Regions from separate parts of the Homo sapiens genome. Here region 1 is linked to region 2. Evidence: promoter capture Hi-C in human tissues and cell types (Jung and others, 2019). All regions are on one chromosome and are shown on one strand. The core of a region is centred on a gene start or on the middle of the fragment in contact, and the rest is flanking DNA. Distances in the headings are between cores, read along the strand shown. Region 1 holds the start of OR51T1 (olfactory receptor family 51 subfamily T member 1). Region 2 holds the start of OR52R1 (olfactory receptor family 52 subfamily R member 1).

Region 1 (2,731 bases), core at 79-2,578, 78 kb after region 2:
AATGAAGATTTCTGTTTTTCCTGATCCTGCTTTAGTAACTAGCATTGAGAGATTAAAAACGTGCATTCCCAAACTTTCAAGAATCTCAAACTTCTGGCAGAAGAACACAGTACTTGGATATATAAATTACCAATATCAGTTGTGCCTCATTATTAAGCACCAAGGGAAAGGTCCAAGCAAAATGTGGGGCAAAGATTGAAGCAGAGGGTAGTTTTAGCTTAATATGTCAGGGAACTTTCAGGGTATATTCTGAATTGTGGAGGAAATATAATTCAGTGTTAACAAATTAACAGAAGGTAGGGGTTGGTAAATGAAGAGGATGGGTCTGTAACATTACTGATGCCAGAAAATAGGGATGTTGACCTTTGGGTCACTCTGTTATTGAGTTGAGTGAGTGTTATTCAAATAATTTCACCTGGTCTTCTGTATATGAATGGGCAGATGCTACCTTCTTCCTGGCCAGTCAGATGGAGACTTGTACCTGAAGAGAGAAAGCACTAATATATTGCTCTGGTTAGCCAGCAATGTTGAGAAAACCTTGATAAATTTAGGCACTGAACTTTGACCTACCACTGGCTCCAGAGTGTATGACCTCACAGAGAGAAAGCCCTCTGCTTCTTCTTCTGTCTCCATTCCACAGGAAAGATTTCCCCAGCAGCAAACGGAACCACTGTCTCCTCTCCTCTTACCGCCTTGCATTATCCAGTGTCATTTCTTTGCCTTTATGAGATATCATTCCAAGAACAGAGGATAACTGATATCTGCTTTATAAGCATCTCATCGCTCAGTTACTTTTGCACCCCCAAATGCCCTCTGCATTCATCTGCACGTGAAGACAAAAACAATACAAACATATGTAGACTTTTATACATAATTTTAAAAACACTTGGACTCCACAAACATTCTTCTTTAGATGAGTCATGAGAACATAGTTCTCTATTTTGCTTATTTCTCATCTCTACCCCTCCTGTACATCATATACAAGTATAAAAGGATATTAAAAAATTGTATTTTAAAGGAAGGAAATTACAACATTCAGCTATCCAAATTGTCTCATTAGCCTGGCCTCTCTGATCATCTGAAGTTTAGTAAAAAATAATAGACTTTGGAGTTAGTAAATTTGGTTTTGAATTTGAATCTGTATTGAACTATTTTAGCCTAGATATACTATTTAACCTTCCTGGGTCCATTTCCTTTCTTTAAAACAGAAGAAAAATAACTACCTTAAATTTAAAATTGTATATAAAATGACTAATAAAATGTATGCTATATATATAAAGAATCTTAATTATTTTTCTTTCCTCATAGTTCAGTGTCTTCAACCAACCATGGCAATATTCAATAACACCACTTCGTCTTCCTCAAACTTCCTCCTCACTGCATTCCCTGGGCTGGAATGTGCTCATGTCTGGATCTCCATTCCAGTCTGCTGTCTCTACACCATTGCCCTCTTGGGAAACAGTATGATCTTTCTTGTCATCATTACTAAGCGGAGACTCCACAAACCCATGTATTATTTCCTCTCCATGCTGGCAGCTGTTGATCTATGTCTGACCATTACGACCCTTCCCACTGTGCTTGGTGTTCTCTGGTTTCATGCCCGGGAGATCAGCTTTAAAGCTTGCTTCATTCAAATGTTCTTTGTGCATGCTTTCTCCTTGCTGGAGTCCTCGGTGCTGGTAGCCATGGCCTTTGACCGCTTCGTGGCTATCTGTAACCCACTGAACTATGCTACTATCCTCACAGACAGGATGGTCCTGGTGATAGGGCTGGTCATCTGCATTAGACCAGCAGTTTTCTTACTTCCCCTTCTTGTAGCCATAAACACTGTGTCTTTTCATGGGGGTCACGAGCTTTCCCATCCATTTTGCTACCACCCAGAAGTGATCAAATACACATATTCCAAACCTTGGATCAGCAGTTTTTGGGGACTGTTTCTTCAGCTCTACCTGAATGGCACTGACGTATTGTTTATTCTTTTCTCCTATGTCCTGATCCTCCGTACTGTTCTGGGCATTGTGGCCCGAAAGAAGCAACAAAAAGCTCTCAGCACTTGTGTCTGTCACATCTGTGCAGTCACTATTTTCTATGTGCCACTGATCAGCCTCTCTTTGGCACACCGCCTCTTCCACTCCACCCCAAGGGTGCTCTGTAGCACTTTGGCCAATATTTATCTGCTCTTACCACCTGTGCTGAACCCTATCATTTACAGCTTGAAGACCAAGACAATCCGCCAGGCTATGTTCCAGCTGCTCCAATCCAAGGGTTCATGGGGTTTTAATGTGAGGGGTCTTAGGGGAAGATGGGATTGAAGGTAGGAAATTGTCAGGACACGAATTATGCTTTGGAAAGAAAGGGACTTGGGGCAGTCTTATCCACAGGTGTTTTGGTTGCTGAGTCAATTCCAATTGAATTTTAGGAGTGGGAAGAAGACAGTAATTTTCCCCTGAGCTTATCAAAGAGTTTTATTTTTAATTTTTAATACCATAATTTAAACCAAATTAATTGAGCATATGTCCCTGAACCATTTTAAACAATGACATGACTCCTGTGCATATAAAAGCAGACTAGTCACTTTAATATAGTGGAAAACTTTATCTCCTTTAAGACAGTAATTTTTAGACCAGAAGTAAATTAAAATTTTATTTTCACATCCAGCTGAACAATTTTTTTTTTTCCCTGAGGTGATATTTCCAGTGAGGCAATGAAGGTTGTTACTTGAGCTGGTAAA
Region 2 (2,728 bases), core at 185-2,684:
TTTTGTTTTTATAAGGCATGATTTTATGCATGTCTTTGTACATATGCACTTTATTTTTATAAACATATTCTCAGATGAAGAAATATATGTACTTTTAAATTATTTGATGTAAATTTCTAAATTTCTTTTAAGCAAAGTGTACCTACTTCTACTGACAGTGTAAAAACAACTTTTTTACCTTAATCATCTGTGGGAGATGACATTCTTTTAAAATATTCACTGATTTAATAGGTAAAACTACTTTTATTGTTTCCATGTGATGATGAATATGTAGTCAACAAAGTTGTTCTTATCCATCACATCTCTCAGGTATCTCTTTTCTAGGTACCCTGAAAATTGTTTCTCTTGCCTCTAGAGGGTTGCTTACCTCTGAGCCAGTTATTTACAGAGCTGACTTAGTGATAATAAGTAATAGCCTGTCAAATGTTCATTAATGTCCCCACATTAGTGGGGCAATGTAAGTGATGGGGATACACTGACCCTTTGCTCAGGGGATGTTTCCACAACATCCTTGGATAACCCTGTCCCCGATCTGTTTGGTTCTAACTCCATAAATGATGGGGTTGAGCATGGGAGGTATCAGTAGATAGAGATTAGCAAACAGGATGTGTACAACTCGGGGCACATCATGGCCAAAGCGGTAGGTGAGGAAAGAAAAAAGGGCTGGGATATAAAGAGCCAAGATGACACAGATATGGGAGGAACGTGTGCTAAAAGCTTTGAGGCGGGCTTCACCTGAGGGCAACTGAAGCACAGCTCTCAAAATCATCACGTATGACATACCAATGACAATCATATCAAAGCCAGCCACAGAGAAGGCCACAAAGAGCCCATTCCCACGACTTATGCTTGTATCAGCACACACCAACTTCAGCACAGCCATGTGCTCACAGTATGACTGGGGAATGGCTTGGTGTTGGCAGAAGGGCATCCTAGACACCATGAAGCAGAAGGGGCTCACCCACAGCAGCCCTCTCAGCATCACGATGGTCCCCAGTTTGATCACGACCGATGGGGTCAGGATGCTAGAGTGTCGGAGTGGGAAGCAGATAGCCACGTAGCAGTCCAGGGCCATAGCCATGAGCACCCCAGACTCCACAGAAGAAAAGGCATGGATGAAGAACACCTGGATGAGGCAGGCATGGTACTGAATCTCATGAGCATGAAACCAGAATATGGCCAACATCTTAGGTTGAGTGGAGGAGGAGAGGACCAGGTCAGTGATGGCCAGCATGGCCAGAAAGAGGTACATGGGCTCATGCAGGGTGTGGTCAATTCTGATTACATGGAGGAGAGTGATATTTCCAACAACAGCCACAGCATACGTGGCACAGAACGGAAAGGCAATCCACAACTGGAAACTCTCCAGGCCTGGGATTCCAAGCAGGATGAAGGACACAGGATGAGAAGAGCTGTTCCCTGAAGCCAGCACCATGGACTGGTTAATATGGTCTCTGCTGGGAACGCAATCTACTCTCTGCAGATGATAACAATCAAAACAAGTGTTATTATTATATACAAGGCTTTTGGATGGGACTATTGGATACCAGGGTGATTGGGTTTGATTATAAACTAGAATAATTTCAACTGTTTTAATAAATAATATGTTACAACATGACATGATGTTACTGTTGTTTTTCGTACTTATGTCATTCAAAATGGGGTAGAACATACTAGTTGCATGTGTAACTGTTTTTTAAGAATCAATATTTTTCTTGACCAGGTGTGGTGGCTTACACCTATAATCCTAGCACTTTGGGAGGCTGAGGCAGGCAGATTGCTTGAGGTCAGGAGTTCAAGACCAGCCTGGCTGACATAGTGGAACCCCTTTTCTATTAAAAATACAAAAACAAAACAAAACAAAAAAAAACCCCATTAGCCAGGCATGGTAGAGCACGCCTATAGTCCCAGCTACTCAGGAGGCTGAGGAAGGAAAATCACTTGAACCCAGGAGTTGGACGTTGCAGTGAGCTGAGCTCACACCACTGCACTCCAGCCTGGGTGTCAGAGCGAAACCGCCTCAAAAAAAAAAAAAAAAAATGAATCAATATTTTTCTTGAAAGTAGCATCTGCTAAGGGAAAATCATCATGACAAGTAATATTATAGTAATTCTTGCTCTTCAGTTCTATAGAACTAACAGCTGATTAGCTTAAACTTTTCCACAGGTCCTTTTTAAACCTCTGGTTAGCCACTTGGCCAATTTCTCAGAGTAGGAAGTCAGTAGAGTTTGCAAGCCTATAGCAATTTATGTATTGCTTTGAAGTTAGCTTTGAATCTAGGTCAGTTACCACAAGGGCTTGGGTGGGAAGTTAATCTACTGACCAATTGTACATTTATAATTTAATTTATTATCTTTAGTGTAGGTTTCTCCTAGACAAGAAGTTAGCAAACTTTTTTTCTTTAAAAAGTGAGATCACAAAATTTTGAGAAATTGTGGCCTATACTGTCTGTTGCAGCAGATCAATTCAGCCATTGTAGTGTGAAAGTAACCATAGTCAACACATAAATGTGTGAGTGTGGTGTGTTCCAATAAACCTTTGTTTACAAAAATGGGTTGCAAGCAGGTGTTGGTTTCCAGGCTATAGTTTGCCAACCTCTGTCCTAGAAGAGGAATTTTTCATGAAGTCAGCTGTGAACCCCACACTATCTCTAGCATCTCTGTGCTTGGTGCAGAGTAGGAATTTAATAAAATATTCCTGAGGAAAGTAGCAAATAAATGTCATTATT

What was found. The method cuts DNA at HindIII sites, captures the fragments that hold promoters and counts their contacts. A contact is called where the count stands out against the background at its distance.
Region 1: the fragment with the promoter of OR51T1 here is called in contact with the fragment with the promoter of OR52R1 in region 2 in 2 of the 25 tissues and cell types used here (ovary and stomach).

Annotation. Positions count from the first base shown.
Region 1 is chr11:4,880,572-4,883,302 of GRCh38, forward strand. OR51T1 (olfactory receptor family 51 subfamily T member 1) reads left to right here and starts at 1,329. Exons shown (of 1, transcript NM_001004759.3): 1 at 1,329-2,312. The coding sequence starts at 1,329. The coding sequence ends at 2,312. The region is part of intron 2 of MMP26 (matrix metallopeptidase 26); the gene reads left to right. The HindIII fragment of the contact is 5,093 bases long and covers 1-2,731 here.
Region 2 is chr11:4,802,946-4,805,673 of GRCh38, forward strand. It overlaps OR52R1 (olfactory receptor family 52 subfamily R member 1), which reads right to left and starts at 1,435. Exons shown (of 1, transcript NM_001005177.3): 1 at 488-1,435. The coding sequence starts at 1,435. The coding sequence ends at 488. All of the region lies in intron 2 of MMP26 (matrix metallopeptidase 26), which reads left to right. The HindIII fragment of the contact is 16,304 bases long and covers 1-2,728 here.